Regions from separate parts of the Homo sapiens genome. Here all the other regions are linked to region 1. The links are contacts of gene promoters, found by promoter capture Hi-C in blood cells and fetal thymus (Javierre and others, 2016). All regions are on one chromosome and are shown on one strand. The core of a region is centred on a gene start or on the middle of the fragment in contact, and the rest is flanking DNA. Distances in the headings are between cores, read along the strand shown.

Region 1 (2,500 bases), core at 1-2,500:
GTGATCCACCCGCCTCGGCCTCCCAAAGTGCTGGGATTACATGCATGAGCCAAAGCACCCGGACTGGACTGGGCACTTGTGAGGACAGCTTTCTTCATTGCTGGAGGCACACCACCATGGAAGAGATCTAGGTGGGGGACCTAAGTAGTCAGCCTGTTTGATCTTGAGGACACGGGAACCCCCCCCCCACCCCAAGAGATCTGTGAAGTGTCTAGGGCAGAGCCTGGGTGGTGGGTGGGGCATGGAGACCCTACCGGTCCTTGTGTAGTTTCAGAAGCCTCTTCACATCTTCTCTGCCCTTGGGGACCGGGCCGGCCTTATCAAAGGCCTCCTTCAGGAGCTGGCTCTTCTCCAGGCCGAAGACATGACGGGGAGCAGGCCCTGTGGCAGCGGGTGGAGGAGGCAGTGGGAGCGGTGGGGGAACAGGGGTCTGCTGACTCCAGGGAGGGGATGGTAAAGCTGAAAAGTCCAGGGGACTTGGGGGTAGAGGAGGAGATGGAATGCTGCTGGCTTGGGGTACAGGGGTTTTTGGAGGAGAAATTGGTGGTTTTAGGGGAGGAGAGCATGGAGAAGTCATTTTGGGGTCTACAGGAGGTGTTGAGAGGTTCAGAAAGCGGGGAGGGAAGGATCCTCCAACGGAGAACGGTCTCAGGGATGGAGATTTTAAAGGTTTAAGAGCTGAGTTCCAGAATCTGGGGACTGAGCAGTGGGTGTGAAAGGACCAGGGCTAATATTTGAAACCACGGGAGCAGGAATTGCGAGGCTGACTCAAGTCATAAGGCACCTGACGGTTAACAGGGTGGGGTCCTTAAATCCGGAACCGGATCTGTGGTACCGGTTGGGTTACCTCGGGAGTCTTAGGTGGAGAGTTAGTAGGAGTTAACTCATTCTTTGGGGCTGGATGTGGAAACTCATGAGTGAGTTTGGGATATGAAGGCTCAGATCTAGAGTGAGGTGCCTTAAGGATGCGACTTAGGGACCCAGGGCTAAAGATTCGGAGAACTTAGGTTCAGTACCCCCTCACATCCCAGGCCCGAGTTCGGAACCTTTGAGCTGACCTTTGAGTCAGAGGTCAAGAGGTCAAAAAGGACACCTGGCAGGGAAAATGGCCTAGTTGTGGAGAAGGTCCTGGAACCAGAGCAACAAAAAACGTCTGTGGGTTGGAGAAGACTCAGAGATCAGAGGCCGGTGGGCGCCGCGATAACCACTGGAAAAAGGAAAGGAGTCAGGAAGTAAAGTGCACCTCCCACTCCCGGAAAATGGCGGCCCCCGCACACTGCCTTTCCCATATCACGTGGTATTACACGCAACAGTTCCCGCCCATTTTGCGATCACGTGACAGAAAACGCAGCTCTGGCGGGGGTAAGAGGCGGGACTCCAAAAAGGATTGCCTCCGGAAGACACCGCAGCGCGAGACGCGTACAGACTCGTGACCTTCACTGATTGGTCCGTAGACCCGGGCGCCACGGAAGGAGGTGGGCTTTCAGGGAGTGGGGCGGGGTTTTTCTACCTAGGCGGGAACCCAAATATCGTTTTGATTGGCAACAGCTGAGCCCAGAAACGAGACTTGCTCTGATTGGTCAAGCTACTGCGTTTCCGCGCGGCGATTGGCTGGCAGAAAGGCAGAGGCGGGGCCAGGAGAGAAAGCTTTGTGGTTTGGTCTCAGGGAAGTAGCAGGCGCCGGTTGAGAGAACTACGGCCCTGTCGGAAGGTAACCTCCGGTGCAAACGACCATCGGCGGCAGGCGAGCGGTACGCTTGGCGTCCGGGCCTTCCTGGGCCCGTCTGAGGAAACTTGCTGCTCGAGGCCAGGCTGCCTAGGACCTGTCCCTTTTTTCTATACTGGCTCCCACATCCGGGTTTTTTCTCCGGGACGGCCCTTCGGATGCTTGGGCCAATGGGAATCGCCATTTAGGGTGCTCCGCCCACCGGGTCGCGTAGAGCATCCTGGAAGTCGTAGTAAATCTCTCGAGAGTTCTCTCCGCACGCGGGCTGGAGAAGCGGGTCCTACGCACGCTTTGTTGTCGCGCTTTGCCTCCGTCCTTGCCCCTACTCCCGCCTTACCTGACTTCCTTTTCGGAGGAAGATCCTTGAGCAGCCGACGTTGGGACAAAGGATTTGGAGAAACCCAGGGCTAAAGTCACGTTTTTCCTCCTTTAAGACTTACCTCAACACTTCACTCCATGGCAGTTCCCGAGACCCGCCCTAACCACACTATTTATATCAACAACCTCAATGAGAAGATCAAGAAGGATGGTGAGTTCTCGGGATAGTCCGGAGTCCAGACTGTCCCGCACGGGCTGGCCCCTCTTCCGTCCCCTGCACCCGCCTCTCTTTCTAAGTGTTTGTCCAGCCAAACTTCGAGTTAACTCCTTGGCCTTTACACAAACTACTTCCTGTCTTCAACACTCCATTAGTTCATCTTACACTCTGCCCTTTAACGTGGTCACTGCTGCTCATCTTACAAGGTTTGAGGTCACAGGACCCTTCCTCCAGGAAGC
Region 2 (2,949 bases), core at 188-2,687, 790 kb after region 1:
TGTAGTTCAGGCCTGCTCAGGCTTCTCATGACCTTTGCCATACTTCTTAGATAAAACAGAATACTTGAAGTTACTAGTTAAAGAGAACAAGAATCTATAAACTCATACCATAAAACAAAGGAAAATTTGTTTTTCTTCTCCCTACATTGAAGGAGTGCTGGAAGAGTCTCCAGAATACAATAAATAATATTATCAAGACTTTTCCTGGGTCTGGGCTGTGCCTGTTGCTGCCTCTGGGACAAGTTAGCTTAATACAAGAAAGCTTATTTCCCTTTCTTTTTAATTTTATTTTTCTTTAATTTCCCACCTCAGTTTTACTTTGCATTTCCCTGAGAATTTTTAATAAGTAAAATACTTAGAAATATACTTAACCAAGTAGGTTAATGTAAGTTTCCTACAAGGAAAACTACAAAATAGTGCTGAAAGAAATCACAGTTGACACAAACAAATGGGAACACATTATAAGCTTATGAATAGGTAGAATCAATATTGTGAAAGTGACCATACTCTCCAAAGCCATCTACAGAGCAGTAGAATTCTCATCAAAATATCATCATTCTCCTTCCCAGAACTAGAAAAAAGAATCCTAAAATTTATACAAAACCAAAAACGTGACCGCATATCCAAAGCAATACTTTGCAAAAAGAACAAATCTGAAGGCAGGCTTTAAATTATACTACAAGGCTACAATCACCAAAATAGCATGATACTGGTATAAAATATGCACATAGAGCAATAGAACAGAATAGAGAACCCAGAAATAAAGCCAAATGCTTACAGACAACTAATCTTCAACAAAGTACACAAAAACATTAATTGGGGAAAGGATACTTTATTCAATAAATGGTGCAGGAAGTATAAAAATAGGCACATAGAGCAATGGAACAGAATAGAGAACCCAGAAATAAAGCCAAATGCTTACAGACAACTAATCTTCAACAAAGTATGCAAAAACACTAATTGGGGAAAGGACACTTTATTCAATAAATGGTGCAGGAAGTATAAAAATAGGCACATAGAGCAATGGAACAGAATAGAGAACCGAGAAACAAAGCCCGGTACTTTCAGTCACCTGATCTTTAACAAAGCATATAAAAACTTCCATCTAAGACCTGAAAGTCTAAAAATGCTACAAGATAGCATCCAAAAAGCTTTTCTAGACATTGGCTTAGGCCAAGTAGTCATGACTAATGCCCCAAAAGCAAACGCAAAAATATAAAAATAGAATAAGATCAATAGGACCTAATGAAACCGAAAATCTTCTGCAAGGCAGAAGAAATATCAGCAGGGTAAACACACAACCCACAGTATAGGAAACAGTAGTCACAAACTAGGCATCTGACAAAGGACTAATGTCCAGACTCCAAAGGAACTGAAAGAAATCAGCAAGAAGAAAAGGTGCCATTTACCACCTTCCTGACTCATTGGCCAGAACCAATGTTAGTGGAATTAACATATGCCCCACCCCAAGTGACTTCTAAAGGGCTAACTCACCACAAGGGAGTCAGAGCAGATCTTGGACTGAGACCTACAGGACACAGGTACTGCTTTTTCTCTTTTATTTGTTTTAAATTTTATTTATGTTTTTAGATCAAATAGTTCAGATTGCATTGGTTTTTAATCTGCTGTTGTTGGATTAACATATGCTTTAAGCGACTCTTAAATAGGTGGCTCACCAGGAGAAAGGCATAGCAGAACCTGGACTGAGACCTACGGGAGACAGGTATTGCTTTTTCTCTTCTAATCATTTTAAATTTAATTTACCATCTTTCATCAAATAGCTCCGATCATATCATTATTTTTTCTTTTCTGTTTTGTTGGTGGTTTTATTGGTGGAGTTTTATTTTACTATTTTAGAAAAGCAGTCTTTTAAAAAAGACTTTTAAAAAGTTTTATTACTCTTTTTTTTAAAAAAATTATGTTTTCCCTTGATGTGCTTATTTCCTTTATAAAGATCATCACCATTAAATTACTAGGAGATACTGCGGCTGATTTTGTCATGCGTGAGATAAGAAATTTTTTGCCAAAGCAATTAGTGATGAGTGCAATGGAAAAATCCGTGATGATCTTTTAAGATGATTAACTTTCTAATCCAGAAAATGCTGCTGTTTGTACTGAACAAAATAGCTTTATTTTTATATGACCAGGGGTACATAAAATGCTTCAAAACAACACATAATTTGGCAAAAATACTATGTCTTGCCAGCCAGAAGAATAAGTGTGGTTTTATTTCTATGTATATGTCTAGTACCATGCCTGCACTAGAGTTGGGAAATTTTAAAAACATCACCTATTGATACAGAAGAGAAGTGCTGGGAAGGGAAGGGCATGGTCCCTTTGAATGATACAGAAAAGGTGAAGGAAAGTGATGGGTAGAGGAGGCCGGGGTCCCTGGCTAGGGCTCCAAACCTGGGCTTGTGCCCCTGGACCTAGATGAGGACAGGCATTTTTGTTTTCCTGACCAAATGTTGCATTTCCCAAGATCACCCTGGCCCACCATGCCCTATCCTGTGCCTAAAAAAACCCTGGGACCCTAGCAGGCAGACACACAGGAGGTTGGACGTCGAGAGGAGCACATCAGTGCAAGAACACATGGGTGGCTGCCACTTCTCTCCCTTTCCTGAGAGGGAAAAACTCTCGACGCTGAGAGGAATCCACCAACAGGCACCAGCACTCTGGCAGGCCACCGACCAATGGATTGACATAGAGTTTGGCTGGGGCAGCCAGAGGAGAGCCTGGGCCGCTGAATAACCCGACTTCAGGGGAAAACTATTCTCCCTTTTGGCTCCCCCATCTGCTGAGAGCTACTTCCACTCAATAAAACCTTGCACTCATTCTCCAAGACCACGTGTGATTTGATTTTTCTGGTACACCTAGGTAACAACCGCGGGATACAGAAAGCCCTCTGTCTTTGGGTTAAGGAATGGGTCTAATTGAGCTGGTTACCAC
Region 3 (2,949 bases), core at 270-2,769, 680 kb after region 1:
CCCAGCCCTATATAATATGTATAGGTCACCCTTGACATAACTAATTCCATCTTAGAAAAAGACTCCATCTGGCTGTGCGCAGTGGCTCACGCCTGTAATCCCAGCACTTTGGGAGGCTGAGGCAGGAGAATCACTTGAGTTCAGGAGTTTGAGACCAGCCTGGGCAACATAGTGAGACCTCGTCCCTATGAAAAAATACAAAAATTGGCCAGGTGCGGTGGCTCACGCCTGTAATCCCAGCACTTTGGGAGCCGAGGTGGGCGGACTACGAGGTCAGGAGATCGAAACCATCCTGGCTAATACACGGTGAAACCCCATCTCTACTAAAAATACAAAAAAATTAGCTGAGCATGGTGGCAGGCGCCTGTACTCCCAGCTTCTTGGGAGGCTGAGGCAGGAGAATTGTTTGAACCTGGGAGGCGGAGCTTGCAGTGAGCCGAGATCGTGCCACTGCACTCCAGCCTGGGTGACAGAGCGAGACTCCATCTCAAAAAAAAAACAAAAAAACAAAAATTAGCTGGGCTTGGTGGCTTGCACCTGTGGTCTCAGCTACTTGGGAGGCTGAGGTGGGAGGATAGCTTGAACCCAGGAGGTCGAGGCTGTAGTGAGTTGTGATCATGCCACTGTGCTCCAGCCTGGGAGACCCTATCTCAAAAAAAAAAAAAAAAAAAAAGGAATGTTTTGCCAATTTTACATACCTAGAAACTGAGGGTCAGCGAGATTACAGATAACATAAGAGCAAAGAGGTAAAATGCAAGAATCCTTGTAGATGGGCAGAAGTTAAGGGACATTTTCAAACATGTATACTGTTTCTAAGGAAGTTGCCAGAGGAAGTGCTCAAACCAGATGGAGGGGTAGATGAAGTCTATGTGAACTGTCTTTTCCAAAAAAAGAAAAAAAGCAAAGGAAAGAGAAAGGGAAGGAGAAAGGAGGCGGGGAAGAAGGAAAGAAAGAAAAACATTATTGAGCACAGGCCAGGCGCCACCAGTGGCTCACGCCTGTAATCCCCAGCACTTTGGGAGGCCGAGGTGGGTGGATCACTTGAGGTCAGGGGTTGGAGACCAGCCTGGCCAACATGGTAAAACCCTGTCTCTACCAAAAATAAAAAAAATTAGCCGGGCGTGGTAGTGTGCACCTATAATCCCAGGTACTTGGGAGGCTGAGGCAGGAGAATTGCTTGAACCCAGGAGATGGAGGTTGCAGTGAGCCGAGATTGTGCCACTGCACTCTAGCCTGGGCGACAAGAGCAAGACTCTTGTCTCAAAAAAAAAAAAAAATTATTGAGCACATATGCATTGCTAGGCTTCTTACATTGCAAAATCACAGTTAATCTCTCACTCCCCCTGACAGGGTCCCACTGGGTAGCTGGGATTACAGGCATGCACCACCATGCCTGGGTAATTTTGTATTTTGGTAGAGACGAGGTTTCACTATGTTGCCGAGGCTGGTCTTGAACTCCTGGGCTCAAGTGCTGTACCTGCCTTGGCCTCTCAAAGTGCAAAGGCATGAGCTACCACGCCCAGCCATTATTATTATTATTTTGAGACAGAGTCTTGCTCTGTCACCCAGGCTGGAGTGCAGTGGCGTGATCTTGGCTCATTGCAACCTCTGCATCCCGGCTTCTAAGGGATTCTCCTGCCTCAGCCTCCTAAGTAGCTGGCATTACAGGCGTGCGCCACCATGCCAAGCTAATTTTGTATTTTTAGTGGAGACAGGGTTTCACCACGTTGGCTAGGCTGGTCTCGAACTCCTGACCTCAGATGATCCACCAGCCTCGGCCTCCCAAAGTGCTGCGATTACAGGTGTGAGCCACCGCGCCCGGCCTATTATTATTTTTTGTGATGAGGTCTCCCTGTGTTGCCCAGGCTAGAGTTCAGTGGTGTGACTACAGCTCACTGTAGCCTCCTGGACTGAAGCGATTCTCCCGCCTTAGCCTCCTGAGTGGCTGGGACCACAGGCATGTGCCACCATACCTGGCTAATTTAAAACATTTTTTGTAGAGACAGGGTCTCACAAAGCTGCTGAGGCTGTTCTCAAACTCCTGGCCTCCAGTGACCTTCCTGTCTCGGCCTCCCAAAGTGCTGGGATTACAGAATGAGCCAGTGTGCCCAGCTCCGTTCAGTCTTTTTTTTTTTTTTTGACACTTTTGAGATGGAGTCTTGCCCTGTCCCCCAGGCTGGAGTGCAGTGGTGCAATCTCAGCTCACTGCAACCTCCACCTCCCGGGTTCATGCGATTCTCCTGCCTCAGCCTCCCCAGTAGCTGGGATTACAGGCGCCTGCCACCACGCCCAGCTAAGTTTTGTATTTTTAGTAGAGACAGGGTTTCGCCATTTTGGCCAAGCTGCTCTCGAACTCCTGACCTCAGGTGATCCGCCCGCCTTGGCCTCCCAAAGCATTGGGATTACAGGCGTGAGCCACCGTGCCCGGCCCCTGTTCACTCTTTATAGCAAACCTTGTGGGTTAGAAATGACCACCATCCCATTTTACACGTGACAAAACTGAAGCTCAGGAACAAGTCCCAAGCCACACAGCCAGGAGGCGGCAGAGACCAGGGGACTCTGAAGCCTGTGTGACTGCAGAACCTGGATGTTAGAGAGATACCCCACCACCTGCCCCAGCCCGTTCTAACACCTTAGCGGTCATACTTGACTGCGCCTCCCTGCTTCAGGATGAAAAAGGCACCTGCGCCGTATGGACCATGTTGCTTCTCCAGCCAGGTGTAAGATCTGCAGAGAAAATGGTAGCTAAGGGTGAGGCCTGGGGAGCACCACAGCCCTCACGATGCCCCAGTGCTGTTAAGAGGGGCAGAGTCCAGAGAACCAGGCACACAGACAGATTCAGTCAGGCTGAAAATATTTATTGCCCACCTCCTAAGTGCTGGGCACTGGGGGCAAAGTGGTGACCAAGGCAGATAACATCCCTGCCCAGTCTGGAGATTACTGCAGTAA
Region 4 (2,949 bases), core at 221-2,720, 610 kb after region 1:
CAAGTTCACATAATCAGCCCAAGGGTGCCTTAACAAGCAATAACTGGTTTTGAACCCAGGCAGTCTGTGCTCTTAACCTCAAACCTGTGCTGCTTCTTAGCTACTATTAGCTTCACTTTGAAACAAGGAAACTGAGGCTCAAAGTGGTCGAGTCCAAAGGTCTCCAATTAATAGGTGGGGGAGTTAATATTTAAATGCAGATCTGGCAGCCCATGACCCTAACCATTACACTATACCATGACTCTATAGGGCCTCAGTTGGGGAAGCATGAACAAAATTACTTTCCTGGGACGTGGCGGCTCACGTTTTTAATCCTAGCACTTTGAGAGGCTGAAGTGGGTGGCCTGTTTGAGCGCAGGAGTTCGAGACCAGCCTGGGCAACATAGCGAGACCCTGTCTCTACAAAAAATAAAAAAAATTAGCCAGATTTGGTGGTGCGTGTCTGTAGTCCCAGCTTCTCAGGAGGCTGAGGCGGGAGGATCACTAGAGCCCGAGAGTTCGAGGCTGCACTGAGCTATGATCACACCACCTTACTCCAGCCCGGGCGCAGAGAGAGACCCTGTCTGTATCCCACCCCTCACACACACAAAGATGGGAGCTTGAGACTCATGTGGACAGGGTGTGGGCTGGGCCTGGAGTACTGAGAACTGATGGAAATGAGGTTAAGAGTCTGCGTTAAGGGGTGGAGGAAGGAGCATGTAGCCTCTAGGCTAGGGGTCTTGGTGTGGAAATGAACCAGGCTTGGGGGAATACCTGTGTGAATGCCCCACTTGCAGAAGAGGCTACTTTCCGAGAAACCGCTGGCCCCTATGATCTGCCCGATCACGTGCACCTCAGCCATGGCCCTGGGAGGGGAAAAATATAATCACAACCCTGTGAGGTAAGTGTATTATCTCCATTTGACGGGGGGGAAACTGAGGCCCAGCAAGTAAAGGGTAGTACTAGGATTCCAAGCTAGCTTCGTCACACCCCTGAGGCTGAGGTCTTGACCACAGATCCTAATTGCCAACCCATGAAAGCCTGGAAAAAATGGGGGGACCCTTGTCTGGGGAACCAGCATTTAACTCTGGGAAGTCCAAAATAACCTTTTCGGGTTCAGGTCGGCGGAAAGCCCCGCCCGAAGGGGCTATGGCTCCGCCCACGAGCGCAAAAGACCCGCCTTCCGCGTCACGCCAGCCACCCCGCTTCCCTCCCCCAGCAAGCTCCATAAGGCGCATGCGTTATGAGTTCAGGTCCGACTTAACCCCGCCTCTAAGCGCAGCGCATGCGTCATTCCTACCTTAGCGCACTTAACGGTTAGGAGAGGAGAAAGCGGCAACCGGGGTTGTAGTTCATGGGCTTGACTGCTTCTTTTCTCCGCGGGCGCCGACCAGGCCTGGCTCGCGCCTCTCCCAGGACCCGCCTGGCTGCGAGATATGTAAGCCGCGATACTTCCGCGACCGCGCTCGTCTTGGTTTCCGTGGTTGTTGCTGGGGCAACAGCAGGCTCCTCCCCTAGCTTTGTACTCGCTCTGCGCGCTACTAATTGGTGCTAGCCGTCTGCGGGGGGCGGGGTGAAGCTGTGATGGACATTTTCCTCCTCCGCTCCATTTTGGGAAAATAGCGTCTCTCCAGCTACGGCAAAGGGTTCCGCCATTTTGGGCGTGGCTAGGAAGCTGCCATGTTGAGTGTGGCTGAGGAAGTTTGAGTGCAGTTTCTCCCAGATACCTTCTTTACCAAAAAAGCAAATCCCTAACTGCTCCGTGCTGCGCCTACCCCACCGAAGAGCTCTCTGTGGTCCGGGATCACAAATCAGAGATTGAACCAGGACCAAGGGGGAATTCCTTCCAGGACCTCGTGTACATCCCCGGCCTTGTAACTGGAAAACAAAGCAAAAAAATCACTCCTCATTCAGAGAGTGGAGAAGTTGGGGAGTGGGTTCTGCTTCCGTTTTAGAGTTCCCCTAGGTTTCTCAAGGACAAGGAAGGAAGGAAGTTGGATAAGTCCAACTTCCTTCTCGGAGCTACTACCAAGTTCACTGTTACTGCTTGATTCTGAGCAAGGAGCGGTTGGGGTAGCGAAGAGAAATGAGGAACTAAGATTCCCTTATTTGCAGAAAATCCTCTTTCCTATTGATTGATTTATCAATCAAGAAATGGAGATGTTGTCCCTGGATGCCATCCTAGATGCCATCATTTCCCACATCAAGCCAGTCATCAGGTCCCATCAAGGCTCCTTAAAAGGGTCTCACTCTGTCACCCAGGCTGGAGTACGGTGGCTCGATCACAGCTCATTGCAGCCTCTTAACTCCTGGGTTCAAGGGATCCTCCTACCTCAGCCTCCCATGTAGCTGGTATCACAGACATGCACCACCACGGCTGGCTAATTCTTTTTTTTTTTTTTAAGAGATGGAGTCCTGCTATGTTGCTATGTTGCCCAGTCTTGTCTTGACCTCCTGGGCTCTAGCTATCCTCCCAGTTCTCCCTCCCAAACTGCCGGGATTACAGGCGTGAGCCACCCAGCCAGGCCAATAGATACAAAGTATTTACAAGCTACCATTGGCTAGGCGCGGTGGCTCATAACTGTAATCCCAGCCCTTTGGAAGGCTGAGGCGGGAAGAGCTCTTGAGGCCAGAAGTTCGAATATAGGGAGACCCCATTAATAATGCATATATCAACTAGTGAAGTATTCCATTGAATTGTTTAATATAAATGTTATCCTATTGAAATGTTGTACCCTCGTTATAATTTTGGTTTTTTACTTTTTGAGATGGCGTCTCCCCCTGTCATCCAGGCTGGAGTGCAGTGGTGCGATCCCAGCTCACTGCAATCTCTGCCTCCCGGGTTCAAGAGATTCTCCTGCCTCAGCCTCCCGAGTAGCTGGGACTACAGGCGTGCACCACCACACCCAGCTAATTTTTGTATTTTTAGTAGAGACGGGTTTTCACCATATTGGCCAGACCGGTCTCAAA
Region 5 (2,949 bases), core at 117-2,616, 550 kb after region 1:
CTTCCCAGAGGAACGTCAATGCAGGGTCCTGGAGAGAAGAAGCTCTTTACTCAGTTTGTCCTTCCCTGGCTCCCCAGTGATTTCTTTTTTGATCTTACTCTTTCTTTGCTTCTGCTTTGTCCCTTCCTTGTCTACCACAGCTGTGAATGGAAAAGCTACCCATCTGTCTTATGTTGGGGTTTTCAGGCTGGATGGGGCTGGGGCAGCACAAGGGAAAGGATGTATGGGAGCTAAAGCTGAAAGTCCTGTGTGCTCACCCTGCCTCTGGTCCCAGATGGGCTGACTGTGGGCAGGCCTCAGTTTGTTTCTCTGTAAATATAGGGATGGTGATGCCATCTGTCTGACCCATTCCCTGGGGTGAGGCCTGAGGGAGCTGTGCACTGTGTCTAGGTGGGTCTTAGCCACCTCTTCAGAAAACGGAGGAGTCTTTGTTAGCCCCTGACACTTAGCAGGCTGAGGGGTTGGGGCTTTGTCTACCTCTTTCTCTCTCTCTCTGTTTTTTTTTTTTTTTTTTTTTGGAGAGGGAGTCTTGCCCTGTCACCCAGGCTGGAGTATAGTGGTGCGATCTTGGCTCACCGCAACCTCCGCCTCCTGAGTTCACCCAGTTCTCCTGCCTCAGCCTCCCGAGTAGCTGGGACTACAGGTGTCCACCACCATGCCTGGCTAATTTTTGTATTTTTAGTAGAGATGGGGTTTTGCCATGTTGGCCAGGCTGGTCTTGAACTCCTGACCTCAGGTGATCCACCCGCCTCGGCCTCCCAAAGTGCTGGGATTACAGGCGTGAGCCACCGCGCCCGCCCTTCTGTCTATGTCTTTCTTATTCACTATTCCAGTTTTCTTCACCTTCTCCCTTCTGGAAGGCCACTCTTCTGGGTGGAGGGGACCAGACTTCAGAAGGTACTGACCTCTTCTTCTTGTTCTCTTTGGGGCACTTCCTTCCTCCTAGCCAACTTCACGTTGCCAGATGTTGGGGACTTCCTGGATGAGGTTCTGTTCATTGAGCTGCAGCGGGAGGAAGCGGACAAGCTAGTGAGGCAGTACAACGAGGAAGGCCGCAAGGCTGGGCCACCCCCTGAAAAGCGCTTTGACAACCGAGGTGGTGGTGGCTTCCGGGGCCGCGGGGGTGGTGGTGGCTTCCAGCGCTATGAAAACCGAGGACCCCCTGGAGGCAACCGTGGCGGCTTCCAGAACCGAGGGGGAGGCAGCGGTGGAGGAGGCAACTACCGAGGAGGTGAGACATCTCACACACAGCACTCTCCACTTTCTGTTCCCAGGTTGGGGCTGGGCTTTGACTGCTTATTCAATCAGCAACTGAAGTTTTCTGAGCTCCAGCTGTGAGTTATACTCTGGTAGAAAACTTGAAACAAGTCAGACACGGAGACCTCAGAAACGCTCCCACTTTCCCACTCCCTGGACGCTGGTTATGAAGCCCTTTGCCCATTTGCATATCACAGTGCACATTCTGTCACATTGCTGTCATTTTTGTGAACCTTCCCCCATCTGACCATGAGCTCCTTGGAAATAGGATCTAGATCAAAATCTATTGGAAATGGGGGCTACATCTTTGGCCAGGTCTGAAGAGGACTAGATGTGACTCGTTCATGGCTGTCACCAGTGCTTAGCTTCCTCTCATTTTTTTTTTTTTTTTTTTTGAGACGGAGTTTTGCTCTTGTTGCCCAGGCTAGAGTGCAATGGTGTAATCTCGGCTCACTGCAACCTCTGCCTCCCGGCATTCAAGCGATTCTCTCGCCTCAGTCTCCTGAGTAGCTGGGATTGTAGGCAAGCACCACCACGCCCGGCTAATTTTGTATTTTTAGTAGAGATGGGGTTTCTCCATGTTGGTCAGGCTGGTCTTGAACTCCTGACCTCACGTGGTCCACCCGCCTTAGCCTCCCAGAGTGCTAGGATTACAGATGTGAGCCACCGCACCCTGCCAGCTTCCTCTCCTTGAGCATCTCCTTCCTGCATATTCAACAGCTATTGAGATGCTGGGACACAGAAACCCAGGACTGCCTTGGTCTCTGCCTCACCATTCTTGCAGTCCAGTGAATGAGACAAACCTGTCATAAGGGCTGGGACAGGGGAGTATGCCCGGGGGTCTAGAGAATCCCAGAGGACATGCTTTGTTGTTCACCTTGAGTTCTTGCTCTGCGCCTGGCCATGCCGGCTCACAGTAGTCACCAAGACAACCCAGTTCCCTGGGGTTGCCATTTGGGAATGATGGCGCCTTTCATCTGGATTTCTCCAACACAGGTTTCAACCGCAGCGGAGGTGGTGGCTATAGCCAGAACCGCTGGGGTAACAACAACCGGGATAACAACAACTCCAACAACAGAGGCAGCTACAACCGGGCTCCCCAGCAACAGCCGCCACCACAGCAGCCTCCGCCACCACAGCCACCACCCCAGCAGCCACCGCCACCACCCAGCTACAGCCCTGCTCGGAACCCCCCAGGGGCCAGCACCTACAATAAGAACAGCAACATCCCTGGCTCAAGCGCCAATACCAGCACCCCCACCGTCAGCAGCTACAGCCCTCCACAGGTGAGAGAATGAGTGTGTGTTTGTATGTAGTGATCGCACGTGTGCTTTTGAACCTGAGCAAGTTAGGTGGAGGCGGATCTGGGGAAATCAACACATGCCCCAGCTACTGGTCTTCACTCTAACCTCTAGCCTGCCCTTCTTTCTCCCTGGCCGTGATCTTGACTCAGATGGACCCTACACATTCCCAGATCCCCTCCAAACCCAGGAGTAAATGTAGACCTTCCCAGAACCTGCTCTTCTCCCACCACCCTCAAGGGGATGGGCTGTAAGCACTGATCCCTCCAGCAAGTACATTATTCTTGGCTAGTGTCACTAACCTCACTAAATCCCCAAGAAAGCACTTGACTGGAGTCACCCCTTGCCCAGGCTGGCTGACCTCTTTGTCTTTTGGACATAATAACCAGGG
Region 6 (2,949 bases), core at 237-2,736, 530 kb after region 1:
CTGACCTCAGGTGATCCACCCACCTTGGCCTCCCAAAGTGCTGGGATTACAGGCTTGAGCCACCGTGCCCGGCCTACTTTGCTCTTTTTAACTGTTGCATCATATTTTGTGGCATGGATATACCATAATCAGTGCTTTATTGATATTTTTTCTGATGTTAAAATATATATATATATATATATGTGCACATATATACATCCAATGCTGCACAGAATGTTGCATATACAAATACAGTCACACATACGTAGACATACTTGTCCACATATTAGTGTATCTATAGGATGCTGAGTTATAGAGCATGTGCATTTATGGGGTTTTGTTGTTTTTTTCTTTTAATGTTTTTGTAAAGATGGGGTCTTGCTATGTTGGCCAGGCTGGTTCCTAACTCCTGGCCTCAAGCCATCCTCCTGCCTTGGCCTCCCAAAGTGTTGGGATTACAGGTGTGAGTCACCATCCCCAGCCATTTACAGTTTTGATAGAGACTTCTAGATTGCCCTCTAAAGACACTGTAACAGTTTATCTTTCTACTAGATGTTACAAGAGTCTCTTAAACTAAAACATAACCGTATTTTGAAATGCCTGTCTCTGTGGCCCTGTACTCTACTGATCCCTTTGGAGGCCCTGGCTTCGATTCGGTTCAACAGGCTTTTCAGAGCTGCTTAAACGCTTCTTCTCCAGCAAGAAAAGCCATTGCTATTTTTTAATGCCTGATATGCTTCCCTCCTATATTGGCTCATAACCTACGGCCTCCAGAGAAGCAACCCTGAGCCCTTTTGTCCTCTTTCCTCAGATCAATGAGGAAATCTCCGTGAAGCACCTTCCGTCTACAGAGCCTGACCCCCACGTGGTCCGTATCGGCTGGTCCCTGGACTCCTGCAGCACCCAGCTAGGTAAGGAGGGGTCAGCTATGCAGTCCAGAGAATAGAGTGACTGTCCCTACCCTTGGATTTTCAAGGCTCCTAAGCTTCCTTTTCCAGCGTCAGACTTAGAATAGAACTAGGCTGAAGTGGAACAGGTACAAGGATTAGGTATATGCCACTGTCTCTGTCATGCTGTATTCAACTGAGAGGACTATGGTCATGAAACAACTTTTCTGTGAAGAATCAATTCTTATCCTTCATCTTTTAGGAGAGGGTCCAAAATTCTCTTTAGGAATCTATTCCCTTTCTGTAAAAAGGATCAGTGTCTCCTGCCCTTAAACCAAGCTGCTGATAAGTTCCCAAGCTCCATTAAGTTCTGTCTGTATTTTCTGTCCGGAGCCTAACCTAGAGGAAAAAGGGGAGCAGAGACCAGTGAGGCCAGGGCTAGTTGGGAGAGGGGCAGGGGCTGCCTATTGAAAGGTTTTGAATTTTGCGGGTCCCCAGGCTTCAATGACCTTCTGGTCCCAAGTGACTGATTATTCTGACCAATGCTGACACCTCCTGCCTTCCGTTTATGATCATACAAACGTTCCAATTATGAAAATAATATGTGTTGCGTATAAGAATTCAGGCCATACAGAAAGGGAAAAATGAAAATCCTTCCTAAACCTGTGAGAGAAACTAACCAATGTTAACATTCCATTTGTAGTCTTCTGGACATTTATTTTTTTGTACATCTTTAAACTGGATCACACTAGGACTACTTTGTATAGCCTTGTTTTAATGTATGATGGGCATATTTTTGTAAATAACTGCAGCTTTTTGACTACTGCATAATTTTCCATTTTATAGTTGCATTATTTAACAAGTCCCCTTCTGTAGCTCATTTAAACTTATTGCAAATTTTTGCTGTTTTAACACTTGAGCCATTATCCTGGTCCATAATTGCCTGACCACTTAAGACTAATCTTTAAAAATAGATGATATTCTCACTCACAAGTGTTTGTTTAAAAAATATGTTCACATGGACTTAGAGAGTGGAATAATAGATAATGGAGACTCAGAAGTGTTAGGGGGTAACAAGGTGGAGGAGGATGAGAAATTGGTTAATGGGTACGATGTACATTTTTTAGGTGATGAACACCCTAAAAGCTTGACCACTATGCAATCTGTGCATGTAACAGAATTGCACATGTACCCCATAAATTGGTACCTCCTCAAAAAGGTAGATATGTTAGCACCAAAAAAAAAAAGTATACAGTTTTCATTTCCATATGTGTTAGCACTTTTTATTTAAGACTCATAAGTCATCTCATCTTATCTCTGTCTCCGTTTTGAGATGTAGGTGGTGGCAGTTGATAGGGATGGGGAAACAGCCCAGGAGGTCAAGCACCATATCCAGGGTCACATAGCTGGTTTGTAGCAGAACGAGCCCTGGCATTCATGCTTGTCGGCCCCTGCTTTTCTAACAGCATACTCTTTGGGTTCTGCCCGGAATCTCTAACTCAGGTGTCAGCCAGAGCCCTTGGGATCTCTCAGTCATATCACTTCAGCACCCAGTTCTGTAGCCTGAGGAAATCTAGTACCTTTCCCAGGGGTCAGTCCTCATGGTCTCCAGGAGCAAAATCCAGCCCCTTCACTGATTTCTACCACAAGTAGACTGGACTGAATATTGGGTGTCACAAGGAAGGGTTGCATCTCAGCATACAGCCATTCTCCTCCATCCCAACTCCTGTCTTCCTTCCTCCCTTTCTTTTCAAATTCTCCCCTCTGTGCAGAGTTATTCAGTTGAGCTCCTACTCCCAGACTGGACAATGAAACCCATCAAGCCCTCCAAGTTCTACATCATTAAGGGCTTCCTTTCACCCTTCCCCACCCCTATTTTAAAAAGGCATCTGATTAATAAAACTAGTAAAGAAAATGATTTTTTTCTTCAAAAATAAAAGTATGTGGCAGCCATTGAGGCTGTTATGACCATCGCAGGTTTAACCTGCCTTTGCCTATTTCTTCCGTCAGGCGAAGAGCCTTTCTCCTATGGCTATGGAGGCACTGGGAAGAAGTCCACCAATAGCCGGTTTGAAAACTACGG

What was found. The method cuts DNA at HindIII sites, captures the fragments that hold promoters and counts their contacts. A CHiCAGO score of 5 or more calls a contact.
Region 2: a contact is called between the fragment with the promoter of LINC01480 here and the fragment with the promoter of ACTMAP in region 1, in 3 of 17 cell types (total B cells, activated CD4 T cells and non-activated CD4 T cells). The highest score is 7.6, in total B cells.
Region 3: a fragment that was not itself captured here is called in contact with the fragment with the promoter of ACTMAP in region 1 in 3 of 17 cell types (total CD8 T cells, naive CD4 T cells and non-activated CD4 T cells); the score reaches 5.5 in total CD8 T cells.
Region 4: the fragment with the promoter of B9D2 here is called in contact with the fragment with the promoter of ACTMAP in region 1 in 8 of 17 cell types (non-activated CD4 T cells, activated CD4 T cells, naive CD4 T cells and 5 more); the score reaches 9.7 in non-activated CD4 T cells.
Region 5: a fragment that was not itself captured here is called in contact with the fragment with the promoter of ACTMAP in region 1 in 6 of 17 cell types (total B cells, total CD4 T cells, naive CD4 T cells and 3 more); the score reaches 7.5 in total B cells.
Region 6: a fragment that was not itself captured here is called in contact with the fragment with the promoter of ACTMAP in region 1 in 1 of 17 cell types (naive CD4 T cells); the score reaches 5.0 in naive CD4 T cells.

Annotation. Positions count from the first base shown.
Region 1 is chr19:40,749,227-40,751,726 of GRCh38, forward strand. It overlaps ACTMAP (actin maturation protease), which reads right to left and starts at 1,251. Exons shown (of 6, transcript NM_198476.5): 1 at 255-1,251. The coding sequence starts at 577. It overlaps SNRPA (small nuclear ribonucleoprotein polypeptide A), which reads left to right and starts at 1,977. Exons shown (of 6, transcript NM_004596.5): 1 at 1,977-2,255. The coding sequence starts at 2,183. RefSeq lists enhancers at 702-1,327, 1,019-1,258, 1,799-1,868, 1,956-2,500 and silencers at 1,459-1,598, 1,863-2,045. The HindIII fragment of the contact is 2,474 bases long and covers 1-1,645 here.
Region 2 is chr19:41,534,061-41,537,009 of GRCh38, forward strand. LINC01480 (long intergenic non-protein coding RNA 1480) reads left to right here and starts at 1,438. Exons shown (of 3, transcript NR_110724.1): 1 at 1,438-1,541; 2 at 1,654-1,723; 3 at 2,541-2,844. The HindIII fragment of the contact is 2,878 bases long and covers 1,150-2,949 here.
Region 3 is chr19:41,433,746-41,436,694 of GRCh38, forward strand. It overlaps DMAC2 (distal membrane arm assembly component 2), which reads right to left. Exons shown (of 6, transcript NM_018035.3): 3 at 2,647-2,727. Among named protein-coding and RNA genes, the nearest start is that of DMAC2, 4.7 kb to the right of the region's middle. The HindIII fragment of the contact is 7,201 bases long and covers 1-2,949 here.
Region 4 is chr19:41,362,679-41,365,627 of GRCh38, forward strand. It overlaps B9D2 (B9 domain containing 2), which reads right to left and starts at 1,471. Exons shown (of 4, transcript NM_030578.4): 1 at 1,280-1,471; 2 at 754-845. The coding sequence starts at 841. It also overlaps a transcript of TMEM91 not described here. RefSeq lists an enhancer at 1,327-1,446. The HindIII fragment of the contact is 18,483 bases long and covers 1-2,949 here.
Region 5 is chr19:41,301,719-41,304,667 of GRCh38, forward strand. It overlaps HNRNPUL1 (heterogeneous nuclear ribonucleoprotein U like 1), which reads left to right. Exons shown (of 15, transcript NM_007040.6): 12 at 947-1,231; 13 at 2,254-2,543. Among named protein-coding and RNA genes, the nearest start is that of CCDC97, 7.0 kb to the right of the region's middle. RefSeq lists an enhancer at 923-1,262. The HindIII fragment of the contact is 4,477 bases long and covers 1-2,949 here.
Region 6 is chr19:41,278,287-41,281,235 of GRCh38, forward strand. HNRNPUL1 (heterogeneous nuclear ribonucleoprotein U like 1) reads left to right here. Exons shown (of 15, transcript NM_007040.6): 6 at 791-890; 7 at 2,877-2,949. Among named protein-coding and RNA genes, the nearest start is that of HNRNPUL1, 15 kb to the left of the region's middle. The HindIII fragment of the contact is 1,048 bases long and covers 963-2,010 here.